Regions from separate parts of the Homo sapiens genome. Here region 1 is linked to region 2. The links are contacts of gene promoters, found by promoter capture Hi-C in human tissues and cell types (Jung and others, 2019). All regions are on one chromosome and are shown on one strand. The core of a region is centred on a gene start or on the middle of the fragment in contact, and the rest is flanking DNA. Distances in the headings are between cores, read along the strand shown.

What was found. Contacts are between HindIII fragments. The study calls those that stand out against the background at their distance.
Region 1: a fragment that was not itself captured here is called in contact with the fragment with the promoter of PRDM6 in region 2 in 2 of the 25 tissues and cell types used here (aorta and bladder).

What each region holds. Positions count from the first base shown.
Region 1 is chr5:123,181,900-123,188,254 of GRCh38, reverse strand. It overlaps PRDM6 (PR/SET domain 6), which reads right to left. Exons shown (of 8, transcript NM_001136239.4): 8 at 1-1,168. The coding sequence ends at 1,054. Among named protein-coding and RNA genes, the nearest start is that of PRDM6-AS1, 95 kb to the right of the region's middle. The HindIII fragment of the contact is 5,750 bases long and covers 1-5,060 here.
Region 2 is chr5:123,086,391-123,093,611 of GRCh38, reverse strand. PRDM6 (PR/SET domain 6) reads right to left here and starts at 4,371. Exons shown (of 8, transcript NM_001136239.4): 1 at 4,093-4,371; 2 at 3,006-3,612. The coding sequence starts at 3,597. It overlaps PRDM6-AS1 (PRDM6 antisense RNA 1), which reads left to right and starts at 3,296. Exons shown (of 2, transcript NR_146771.1): 1 at 3,296-3,540; 2 at 5,673-7,221. RefSeq lists enhancers at 4,632-5,176, 5,177-5,721. The HindIII fragment of the contact is 7,641 bases long and covers 1-5,920 here.

The DNA.
Region 1 (6,355 bases), core at 936-3,435, 97 kb before region 2:
GCTATTTTCACTTGTGTTTGTAGACATGCTCCTCCCACACTCAGGAGAGAGGAAAGGGGGCTCCTGGGGTTCATCTGCAAGAGGAAGAAAGATAAAATTGCTAAAAGGGCCTTGACGATGGGGTTTGGCACTATTTTTGTTCACATGTTCAACACTTTCACAGAAACAACTAAAAAAATTACAATGAAGCCTAACACCTTATCTCCAGCCTTAAACCAAAGAACTTTATTTTCATTTTCTTTTTTTTTTTTTAAGCTAAAATGTTATTGAAAACAAATGTTTCTCAACGAGCTGCTTCGGAACAATATAACGTATTATGAAGCTCCGTACATTTTACATGTTCTTGCAATCTTGACAGGACAAAATAAGTCCTCAACTTTTTCCTTTGAATTTTGAAACTGAAACCATTTTCTTCCTTTTCCAGACTCTCCTGCATCAAGACCGGGCTGTTTGGAAGAAACCGTGTAAAAAGTGCATGAGCAGTGAGCATGGAAGACATGGAAATGGGATGCGTCTGGGGCTGAAGGTAGCATTGACTCAGCGAAGGCTCTCACTCTGCTTCCGTGGTCCCCGCTGGGGCAGCCAGTGTCAGGCCAGGCCAAACTGACACAGCAGAATGAAGGGCTGTACAGTGGGTCCCCATGAAACATGTTACTAAAAAAAGGTGCAACGAGAACCAAGTCCCTGTGCATTCTTAGTCACAACGGTGGGCAGAAGAACCCATACGATTCCTCCCTTTGGTATTAAATAACAGTTTTTAAAAAGCTTTTTAGAAACAAAGCAAAATACATGGTGGGACTGGAAATGTTAACCATCCCAGGTTAGTTGTCCACTGAAATAAGTCTCATCCCTAAGTCATAAATAAATAATCTCTTTCCTGGTCTGACTTCCATGCCAGGATCAATATCTCTTAACATCTTACTTATTTTATTACTGCTTTTGGTTTTCTGGGACTGATTGAAAGTTGCTCAGAGGAAATCTTTGGTTTTGCTTAAGTGTCCGTGACATTTAATCATGACTTTCCTTGCAGTTTAATTCCAACCAGTCAATCCGTTAATCCACTTCGATTGATTCTGGGCTCTCAGTTATTGGCTTGCACTCATTGGGCATCCGCTGGTGTCGGCTCAGCTGGGTGGCCTGCGTGAAGCTCCTCTCACACCTCTCGCACCTGGTGGAGGCAAGAGAGAAAATTGAGACCAGGGAGCGGGGCCTGCAGGGTGATGGGCTTCCTCTCATCCTGCCTAATCAGAACAGACACTCCAAAGTGGCTTCAGATTTTACCAGCTCAAGAGGTTTAATTGGTGGCTCCTTCCAAGGCCTGGATGCCTGTGATGGGACAAAGCCCGTCTGATGCAGAACAGAGGGATCTGTCAATAGGCAGGGGGAAGGTGATTTCTCCAGAGAGCCCTGTCCTGCTGCAGCTCTGATCACTGTCAGTTCAAATAGATAAAGAACAAAAAGAGATTTTTAGGAGTGAGCCATCAAAGAAGCAGCTTGCCTGCAGTTTTCTACTCTGTAACCCCAAAGAGAAATTGATGACAAATAGAATTTCACCTACTGCTAATTTACAATTGGGAATTCTACTCCCTTCAGAACAGCAGCCAAAGAGTGTACATCTTGGAATTTGGAAACTAGAGGAAGCAATATGTTAGACTGCAGTGACTGTGAGGGGCAGTAGGCGTGGTCGCTGCTTTTTTGCAAAAGCTGGTTACAGTGTCACAGCCTAACCAAACTTAGGGTTAAAATAATTTATAAAACTAGAATTTGCAGTGGCACAGTGGAAAGGATGTACCTATGGGCTAGAATTAAGGGCAGTGTGTCTGATGAGGAGAAAATGTCACACTTCAAGATTTATCTCTTCTTTTTAACTTAAATGAGAAACAACAACAAAAAAAGACTGTAATCTAGAGACTTTGAGTTCCTCCCTATCTCCCATGTCCATATCTTCCAAACAACCTTCACTTACTAGCTTGGTGGCTACTCAATCTACAAAAAGCAGAACACACATTCAAAATCTAGTGGGAGCCTGTTGTTTTTCTGTGGATGTTGTCCCTGGCTGATTGTGATTGTGTGTGTAAATACACACACCCACAGATGAACTGTGGCAGCTGGCTGGGCACAGACAGCGACTTCTCCATCACCACCTTACTTACCTGGGCTGCCTAGAGCACTGGCCCAGCATCTAATACAGCTCAGAGGCCACCTCAGCCACCCCTAATGCCCTTTCCTCAAACCTTTGAAGAAAAAGATATTCAAGAAGAGCTACAGACAATTGTCCCACTTTTAAATAATGCAACCTCCAGTTTGTGAGCCCCTGCACTATGAAAGCTGTGGCAAAAGCCACCATGACATAGTCTCCCTGCCTTATCACAGACAAGAAAGCCACAAGCCCTGTTATCTGTTAGGCATTCCACTCTTTCTCCTCTTCAGTAAATTATATTAAGTGCCCTGTCTTGGAAATAAGTACCTATAAAATAGAACACATCAATCCACTCTGGGAATTCTTGCATGTTTTTGAACATTGGGAGGCAGGAGCTTCACTTCGCATTTGGATTTTTCAGGGCTCCTGCACCAGCGGAGTGTGTCAGGGGGAAGAACTTGTGTTTCTTTGATTGTCTTTCGGGGAATATTTTTAGCAGCCTGTTCCACTGTTAAAAACTGCACTGTGATCTTGACAAATGTATAATGTCAGCTTTAATGTATCAGACCTATCAGCTCAATGAAAATAACTCAGAAGTATTGATCACCTAATGATTTTTGGTGTATTCATTAACGTCCGTGGGCAGCTCATCCCCTCTCCAGAGCTCCTGGAGTGCTGATGACACGTTAGCGAACTGCTGATTGTTTATTAGAAAACTGATTAGTTACTGGATTAGTGTGTCAAAATATACTACCTTTCACTGCTTGACAAACTTTCAAATTATTATATTCCTTTTTTTTATCTTGAAGCTCTAGAATCAATTTCAAAGAGAGTAGAATAGCTTGAACAATTGTGAGAAATGAAAATGTGCCTGGGTCATGGTTTTGCATTTTTAATCTTGTGTATTAGAATATGAGGAATACACGAGTTGGCAGTTTAGTGCTTCATATAAGGCAAAAGTGTATGTCTATATGTAATATTTTAACATCCAGATTGGATGGAGACACTAAGAGAAAAACACATTTTTCTCAAGTGTTTGCCTAAATGCACTGCAGATATTTACACAAATGGAACAATTTGTTGTAATAGTCAGAAAATTTGTCCAATATATAGGGTGCATAAGAAGAGTATTCCAGAAAAATCATTTCTAGAGCCATCTGCACACCAAGTGTGAGTAAAAATACAAGCAAACGTGTAGAAATTACCTTAATTTAGAATCTTTTCTCAGGGAGTTCTCCTTGAGGAAAGAAGGCTACCAGAAATAATATCTATGTTGTCTGGGAATGACAAGAATGCAATTTATATATTTGAGGAAGTAAGAGCTAGATATAAAAATATTTTTTAAAAATAAGAGAAGGACTTCAGTTTTATGTTCATTATCTTACATTTTAGAGAAATCTCTTCCACAAAATATTTTCATACTTTAATGAAACTCATCTCAACAGAACTGACTCAACAGAAGTCAGAGCCAGACTTCACTTGGTTGGCATCTAAACTAACCCTGAATTACAGTCCCTGATGACTGACTGGCAGGGGCATCTCTAAGCCTGGACTTCGTGCAGTGTAACAGAGTAAGAAGGAAGAAAAGATGCAGGTAATGCGTCAGGAGGGAAAAGCGCCCTTGCACTCAGGGGCTTCGTTGTGCCTTCCCTTAGCATAGGTGCTGATGCCACAGCCTTGACGGGAGTATCTCAGGAACAATGAAGTGGAAAGTCTACTAAGTATTTCAGCTAAAAGAAACTCCTCATTGTGAGGAGTTTCTATTATACCATTGTGAGCATCTTAATTAGACTTAATTACCTCTAAAGTTTGAGATCATTCTTTACTTACTATGATGGTTGACTGGATTATATGTACGAGGAGCTTAACAAAGCGATGTCAAGTTCTGTTACCACAGAAAACCTGCAACAAGCTTTCTGTGCCTCTATGATATGCCACAAAATACTTTTTGAATTGAACCAAATTGCACAGGGCTTTGTATGTATGATGTGTTCAATGCATATTTACTGATTTGCTTCTTGGATTTGCTTTAATTTTGCCTAGATCTTGTTCAAATATTAGATGTCCTTTGGAATTTCCTTTGATTTTTTTCATCATGAGCCAAACTCCATTTTCTTGATGAAAGAACATAGCGATGAATGATTCTCCTTGCTTCTAACAATAATGAAGAACCCCTCCTAAGGAAAATTCTGGCCTGTTCTCAGTTTCCCAGGTTCAGAAAGCCAGGCTTCGGGCAGCTCACACAGATCCTCTCAGGCACAGCAGGGCAGCCCACTGAAATATCAAGACACTGTTTAGTAAGAAGGAGGAAGGAGTCCTTGCTGCATAGAATAATTTTTAGACTGCCAACTAACTTCTTTATTTCCTTCCTTCCTGCCTGCCTGCAATAAAATGCTTGGCCATTGCTGTTAAATGATATCTTGCGTTTGCTCCTTGTTTTCCATGACTTCCAGTATCATAGAGCAAATTGAAAGCCAAGACCTTCAATGTGATCCTCCAATTTTTATTTTTCGTACATGCTCCTTTATCTTAGAAATCCTAAGTCTACGGCCTAGGGTAGCTGCTGACAGGCCCATCATCTACCTAGAACATGGGAGATGGATTCTTTCAGTGGAATTTCAGTCAATCAGATATGAGGCAAAGCCTGGATTGAAACTCTGACCTCTTCATGCCAAATCTTCTGCAGCCTTCTTTGGATGGCAGTAATCTTGATATGCCTTCAAAAACCACTTCTCAGCAGAAGATTTTAGAAGTTGTAAAGGGCTTTCTCTGACATGGCAAGCTTAATCTCAGCTCAACCCTGAGAATTCTGTAAAGGCCTCCTGAGCCCTGGATGGGTGGGACAATTTGGGGACTGAGCCATCTGGGGCATCTATTTGGAAACTCCCCAAGACATACAGTTGAGGGTTATGTGCCTTTACAAGATTCTTCTCCTTCTTTGTAACATTGTGTAAGCCAATACCCATTAGTTGAAGTAGTAAAATTAACTGTTGTAGAGAAACCCATTTTATTGACTAATCTGCAAAAAAAAGGTTTTTAAAAATGTTTGTTTTATAAGCTTGTAAAAGGATATCTTCATAATATTTACAAATGTCCATGGGATGAATATCCATGAGCTATGGTTGGAAGATTCCCAAAATTCCCTTGGGATAGATCAATTCTGAAAGACCTGGTTGTATACACTAAAGGATTTAACTTTCCATTTCCTAGAAGATGTTTAAATCTTGCACTTTCAAAATAAGCATACACTCAGCTCTCCCCTGGGAATATCTATTTGATAAATTAAAATAAAAAAAAACAACTACAGCATGTGGCTGTCTAGATAAAAGTAGGAACAGAAAGAACTAAAACATATACACAGAATTTAAGCCAACAACCTTAGTTGTTTCCTTTTTTTTCCAGATGAAAGTAGGTATGATCAAAACATATATTTTTGGAAAAGGAAAAATACAATCAGCAAAGCCCTTCAAATATTAATCTGATGAATTAAAATTAAGTTAAAATGGCAACTCTATTGGAAACATGACAAAAACAGATGTTAAAGGAAAAAAATTGAGTGAAGTCAACAAGGTTACACATAAGTAACACCTTAACATTAATAGAAATCTATTTCCCATTTTGACCCTGAAACCGCTTCAATTAATTACTAAAATCTATTTACACAGCAACAAGATAAAAATCAATCTGACTCCTGGCACTGTATTGGTCTGGCTGCCCTTTCTAATATAAGGGGCCAGAAGGATCCTGAACCCTCCTGTATCTCTGCTTTTGAAAAGCTCTCTTGCTCAAAGGCACAGGCAACGTGCCACTCATTGTCAACACCCTCCTCCAGAGCAGTGAAGCCAGAACCTAGGAACCCTACGGGGCTCAGGCCTGAGGGCAATGACAAAGTCCACTAGGCAGGATACAAGCACTGGTGATAGGGAACTCCTAGGACTGTGGTAGCCCATGCAGCTCCTTAGGGTGGATTAGAAAAAGATGCCCTCTTTGGGCTATTGCAGCCTCAGGCGGCACAGCATGGGTGGCATAGTACAGACTTGATTTTAGGCCCCATCCTGCCCACTTAGCCAGATGCTCTTATGCAGTGAACAAGCTGCACCTATGTACCGCAACAAAAATTATCACTATTTTGATTATTAACACCATAAATTAAACTATGTTGGAGAATAGTTAAGAATGCTGAATAAAGTAACTAATTATTGAGGAGAAGAGGGA
Region 2 (7,221 bases), core at 3,122-5,621:
ACCACTTGATTTTTAAGAGAAGGCGGCAGCAGCAGCAACAGCAAAGCATTCAGAGCTTCGGTGGAAACTGTACTTCAGTCACAGGGTAAACTGATACGGAGTTAGGAACATACTGGAAAAGCTCACCCGGGTAGCTTGCAGTTTCTGCTGTTTTAAAATCTTTTAGAACGAAAGAGAGCTACAAGCCCCATCACTGTGACATTTACCATAGATGCCAATAAAGTTTCAAGGTGAAACTAGTGTTCCTAAGTTCTTTTCTTACAGAGCAATGATATGTATTGCTGATCCTAGGCAAAAAGTTACTTTGCTAAAGGGAAGGGAGAAGTAAGGAGGCACCCCCGCATCCCGCCCTTTTTATTTCGCCTTGTGAGAAAAAGAGAAAACAACTCAATACCTATCCTTTTAAGTACGAAGTGACAAAATGAAGCAATGCTAAGTGGTCACTTCACAGAATTCTTTTAGAGGGAGATGGTAAAAAAACTAAAAGAAAAACTAGGGAAATCTATACATGATAAATTAATAGGAGCTTCCCTCTGCCTCCACCCTTCCTTTCACTCCACCTCCACTCACATACAACTCGAGAATGAGGAGAAGCTTCTGTTTTTCACAGCCTTTCAATAACCATTATGCCAACTTCCCCTGCCAAAGGAAACGAGTTTCCCACTATTTGCATTTCTGACTTGTTTTAAGCCCCTACTTAGATTAAACTCAATCACGTTTCATCTTTGTAAAAGTACATCCCATGGCTTCAAATGAGTGCCTAAGCTTGCTTGTCCAGAGAAGTTCCTGGAAGAATGGGAGATCTCGTCTCCCAGCATTACACAGCGCTATCTCAGCTTTCTATTTTCTTTCTCAATTGCCCTTTAATTAGTGAGCAACGTGGGGTGTAACTCTAATAGGACAATCTAATTTTCTTTCCCTTCTGTCTTTTCCCCTGCACTTCAAACACTGAAACAATCCAGTTGGCTCAAAAGGAGATACCAGAAGATTAACACAATATAAATTATTTAAATAAAATTGTAATTTATTTTCTCCAACCAGAGAAAAAAGTTACCCAGGCAATAAACTGGTTCAATACCCATATATTAATTAGGAATCTATCCTAATTCTTTCTCGAATTAGTCTGTTTTCTCTGGTGAAAACGTATTAATTTTCCAGACTGCATTGTAAACAGTACAGGAGCTCAGCACACAGCCAGGGATTTGGGGTGTACTGCTGGTGACTTCTCTAGCATATATTTAATTCAGAAGTGAAATTGCAAGATTGATGAAGCATTCTCAGCCTGCAATGGCTATATTTCACTTAGCAGTAAGACATACCTTTTCCAAGGCAGTTTAAAAATCTTTTTATTTCATAATTTAAAATACTTGCTTCAAAAACACACATTCAAGAAATTCAGTAGGAGATAAGTATTTTTTGAAATCTGTTGGGAGAGTATAATGTTGTAAAACTTTCTGAAACTCTGAAATACAAGTCTTCTCAACTGCACAGCAAAATTAGAGTTGAAACCACTATTTTAAGCCAGTGCTTTACTCTCAAACTTCATAAAGAAAAAAGTAAATACGATTGCTCTTTCTGTTGGTAATTATTATCTCCATCACAGCTATGTCCAACATAATGAAAATATTCATAGACCTCAACCACGAGGCAGTTGCCCAGTGTTTTTTTTTTCATCAAATCAACGACTTAGGGAATCCTTTAAAGAGCTATAACTGAACTTATTTTGCTTTTACAACGAATTAAGAAGTTCACAGAGCGGTAGACATTTTGCAAGAAGCAACTTATTCAAAATTGAATAAAAATAAATGTTTTAAATTAACTTTACTCATACAGAAGCCAGACGAAGGAATGAGATGAAGAAAATAGCTGAATGAATGCTGATCTTTCAAATCCTGTATTGCTTTCAATCTGACGCTCTTAACACACTTTAATGTTATCTCCAGAAGTCTCTGGGAGCACGTTTAACACTCCCAACACAGTATAGGTGTAAACACAGTATAACTTCTGAAATTATCAAAAAGAAGCAGGTATAAAGCAGTACATATTGCTTGATCTTCATTTAGAGTTTTGCTTCAAAACCGCCAAATGGAACTGTACTTGTGATAAGCGTTTCAAATTGTGAATATAGAAACCGAAGCTACAGGAATTCTGATGTTTAGTTAGGCATTTGCTATTAACTTGGAGGAAGAGGGGAGTAAGCGTCTTTTACTAAATTACAGTCACCCTAATTTCTAAAAATAAATACATAAACCAACATGGGTTATGAATGTTTGCGGGGTCAAAGGTGCGCGGATAAAGCGGGATCAGCGGAATCGGAGGAGAACAGAAATTTTCTTCTCAGTAAGTAGCAGTCATTTTTTTTTCTTTTCCTTCTTTTTAAATGAATAGTAGATCTAAGAATACTGCCTGCCTTCAAGGAGAAACGGACTCAGTTTCATCTAAAATTCCTACTCCAGTGAGGCCTGGCCAGCGAACAGCTCCCGCCGGTTCCCCCACAACCCCGCGGCCCGAAAATGACCCCTCCAGAGGTGGGGTGGAGAGTAGCAAAAACAAGCCCTGGTCTGCGTGCTCCCCAGAGACGCTGAGGGTCCCTCCCTCGTCCCGGCTAAGGCCAGGCAGGGCCTGACCCAGACACCCCCTGTCACACGCTGCCAGTACCCGCCTGGCCCCGGGCACTGTCCGGCGGGAGGGCAGAGGTCTGTTAGGCCGGGTCCACGGTAGACTCCGGCCCCAAACACTTGGGACTGTGAAGCAGGTGAGGAGAGGGAGGGAGAGGGAACCCCAAAGTGCCACCGGCCGTCCCATCCGTTCTCTTTCCTTCTCCAACGCCAGAAAACTTTTGTCACAGAGATCGGGGAGGCGCGGGCCAGCGGCCAGGACCAGGTGCTCCCCACCCACCCGGCCCCGTGTCACTCCTATCCGACCCGCCTCCCTGACAGGCACCCGCGCCCGCCGGCGCCGGCGCCGGCGCCCCGGGAGAGAGCGCGCGGGCTGCGGCTACGTACGGTTGTTGGGGTCGCTGGTGTGCTGGTTGAGCGGGATGATCTCCATGCGCTGCTGGCCATACAGGTAATAGTCCAGCTCCTCTGCGCTGCAGCGGAAGCGCGGGGCGCCGCGACCCTCCCCGCCGCCGCCGCCACCACCACCGCACTTGACGGGCCCGGGGCCGGAGGTGGCGCCGAGGCACAGTTCCTTGGGGGGCAGCGGCTCGGCGGCGACGGCAGCGGCGGCTAGAGGCGCGAACACCGGCAGCTGCGACACCGGCAGGGCCGAGAGACCAGCCAGCGCGGCGGCAGCGGCCGCAGCAGCGCAGGAGGAGGCGGAGGAGGCGGAGGTGGAAGAGGAAGCCGGCGTGGACGAGGCGGAGGAGAGAGAGGCGGGCCGCGGGCGCAGGCTGTCCGGCGGAGGCTCAGCGCGCTCCGGGGGCGGGGGCGGCGGCGGCGGCTGAAGAGGCTGCGGCGCGCTCAGGAGACCCGCGGCGCCGCTGCCCTTGAGCGGGCCTGCGCCTCCGTGAGGGAAGAGTTGCTGCCAGTGCTGCAGGTAGGCTGGGTCCACTTTGAGGAAGGCCGAACCGCCGGGGTCTCCGGGCTTCAGCATGTCCGGCGCCTCGAACTGGGGGCAGAGGGCAGGGAAGAGGGGGCGCGTGAGCTGGGCGAAAGGGGCCGGGAAGAGGGCCACTGGGACCCTGGAGAAAGTGCCCGAGCCGGTGGTTCAGCCGGCGGCCGCCCGGTTCCGCGGCTCCCTCTTCCCAACTCCGCTTGGGCGCAAAGTTTACTCCGAAGCTGCGGCGCCGCACAGAGGGAGCTGTGTGCACCCTGCTCTGCCTCCCCGATCGCAGCGTCCAGCTCCCATCCAGCAATGCTGGGGCCCGACAGGAGGGCGCTGCCCCGTAGAACTCGGCTGCAGGACGCAGCCCCCGCCCTCAGCCAGCGCCCGGAGCCGACCCGAGCCGGCGTGGCGCAGCGCCCGAGCCGCGTTGGCCTCAGGCGCCAGGAGGCAGAACAGTCTCGCCGCCCGCCCCCAACCTAGGACCACCAACCTTCCTATCTACCAAGCCCTAGACTCTTAAGTCCCAGACCAGCCTCACCTTACCTGAAAACTCGGTGCTGCCGGTGGGTGCGTGCGGGTGTCTCGGTGAGCGTGCGGGTGCGCGAGAGTGTGCGCCCTGCGTGCGCTACATGCCCCTGAGCAGCGCGGGAGGAGAGTCCTAGAGATTGTGCCGCCCGGAAACCTCCCGACCTGCAAGCGAGAAAATTGGGAGGCCCGCGGAGGGCGCGAGAGTGCGGACGGACCTGGGCGCCCGACTCAACCGCCGTGGGCTGCTGCGCTTGGCCGCTGCCGCGTCCTGGCTCCTTGGTTCCACGCTCTGGCAGCTTCCCGGCTGGACACGTGGGTTTTACGACAGCACAAAATAGAGTGAGTGTGTGTGTGTGTGTGTGTGTGTGTGTGTGTGTGTGTGTGTGTGTGTGTGTGTGTGTGTGTGTGAGAGAGAGAGAGAGAGAGAGAGAGAGAGAGAGAGAGAGAGAGAGAGAGAACGGAGGGGGGAGGGGAGGCAGGCCAGAAGAAGGGGAGGGGAGAGGGAAGAAGGAAGTTCTAATTCGGCCCGACCCACATCGCCAGAGCGCCTTTCCCGCACAAACTCCTCCGCCCTCCCATCCCCTGTTTTTTTGGCGTGACGTCTGCCGCTAGCCTGTTGTCTCTTTCTGCCCATGATATGTCTTTTCTGGGTCCCAGCTCAGTGCCCTGATCTTGAAAGCAGTGGAAATGCGGCAACGGGAATGCATCTCCGCACACGCTGTGGTGTCCGCGCTGGAGCAAGCCCGCGCCGCCAGGACCGGGTTTGCGCTTTTGCCCGGCTCAGTTTTTCCTGAAGTGCTTCTGGGTGCCAGAGTCCACTCGCCCGCCACGCAACCTCTAACATAAATCCTCCGGGGAGAAAAGTTGGGGGCGGAGCGGGACGGGTTGCGCGCTGCAGTGAAACCCTCTGTCTGCAGCCCAGGAGGGAGGCTTGTCGGTGCAGGGAGGCGTAGGACCGAGGGTCCTGAGACCGAGAGCAGCTGGTCCTGGAGGGACTCAAGCTTGGCCGTGGGGCTGGGAGGCGGCTGCAATGGAGTCTGCACTCCACCCAGCGCTCTGCTGACCCCTTCTCGGGTTGTCTTCTGGAGGGCTCTTTCCCTCTCCTTCTTGGGGCCCGGAGACAAGTATCCAGTGTTACGTCTGGTGGCACAACTGCTCCGGGACACGGGCGAGGCTGTTTGCGGTCAGCTGCCTGCGGCTGCCGCAGGAGGTCACGCATAGGTTTCTCTACCCAAAACCTGGTGTTAGAGGGGCAGGGTGGGAGTGCAGCCCCACCTCCACCATGTCCTCTCCCCAGACTTTGTGCCAGGGCAGCCCTTCGATGCAGTCTCGCACCCACGAAGGAGGCACTTGCCCCCCAGCTCTTCCTGGCATTTTCGGTAGTAGATGGTAGAGGGCACAGGCAGGGTGTGTGAAATTGACCGACTCAGGAGGTACTTTCCCATCGCCGGGGTTCTGGCCATACCGTAAAGAGAAGAAACGGCATTTATCTTTTTCCAAACAACCTAACTTATTTAGCACTTGCCAATCTGAGCAATTAATAGCCATTCTTTCCTGATTTCTGCTTGTTTCTTTTTCTCTTCCCACCACTCAAGTTTTCTGAACCTGGGAAACGTGCTGTTCAGACTTCATCCGGGTCTCATTCAGGATGCTTCGATGTTGGTTGGAAGAGAGTTAGACCGAAAATGTTTTGACTGGCGTCGTTATGACAAGGTCATCCGTCATTGTTGGATAGATTGATAGCACCCAAGTTTAAGGCAGACACCACGAGGGAAAGCCCACGGCGCTGTGGTCCCGGAGGCTAACCAGGCAGTGTCCGCAGACCTCCAGCAACTCCATCGGGAGGAGAGGATGAAGTTCCAGGCCCGTTTCAATTAATCTGCTCGCAGAACTGCCGAAGAGTGGCTTGTCGGGCCACGGGAGAAGAAACAAATGCTCTTTCTCACACTCTCCTGGTTCATTGCTGAGAAACCAGGACACTCCTCTGTTCCCTGGGAGAGACAGTGAACTCCAGGGATGGAAGTCCGGACTCCGGCGGCGGTCCCGTCATTTGCCTTCTTGTTTCTGCCCAAACCCAGCTAGTTCCAAGCGCTTGGTCCCCAAGACTGGAAGTCCCCAAGAACCTACCTCTACCTGTCCCAACCCTGCCTCCCCCCTACCCTTTCACCCCCTGCCACCATTAGAAAGTCTCTGGATTTTGAAATGCTAGTTGCAGCAGCTGCTTCCGTGGCCTCATGCCGCCCACACTCTGGGAAGCGGAGGAGGGAGGGTTCCTCTCGTAATAAGATTAGCTGACCTGTTAATGAGAGTTTTGGACGTGCCGGGCGGGGGTAGGCGCTTTATGTCCATTTAATCCACCTACATGCGGAGAAGGCATTATCATTAACCCCCATATTGTAGATGGGGACCGCTGAGGTTCGGAAAGTTTAGATGGGTTGCCTAAGGTCACGCCATTAATGAGTAATGGAGACGGATTCAAATACCGTTCGGTAAGGTGCCAAGTGCATCTTCTGCCTACCCTAGTCCAACCTGTAGCCACTCGGTCCAGACTGACGCCAGAGGGGCTATCATGGGAGAGATTTGGTTCCCCTCGCTGCGGGGTCCAGGGAAGAAGCTGAGAAGGTAGCAAAGTCCCCCTCGCCCACTACGTCTACAGGTGGCGTACCTGGGTAATCCGATTCAAGCTTCCGCCACACCCACCCCGGGCACAAGTCGATCCCGAGGCTTACGGGACCCTAAGGCCCAGAGGCTACAGGAACCTCCCGTGAAGGGGGCAGGAGAAAGTTTGAGGGAGAGCCCTGAAGGTCCGGGAGCGAACGAAAAAGTCTGGAAGGGAATAGACCAGGAGTCAGGACCTCCCCTGCACCTCCCCAGCAGGCCCACTGCGCCGAGCGGGGCCCCTGCCTCCACCGCGGCTTCCGGGATGCCCGCAGAGCTCGGCATCCTCACCCGGTGCGCACAAGGGCGCGCAGCGGCGTAAGCTGGACCCCCGACGCTGCGCGCGCTCTGAGGGGCGCTTCCCCCTCACACAGTTGACCCTGGGCCCGCTTGGTCACGGCCACCCTGGCGCATCTCAATAGTTTTTAGAAAGTGAGCCCACCGACGGCAAGGACATGCACCCCCTCAAATCCGCTTCCCCCACCC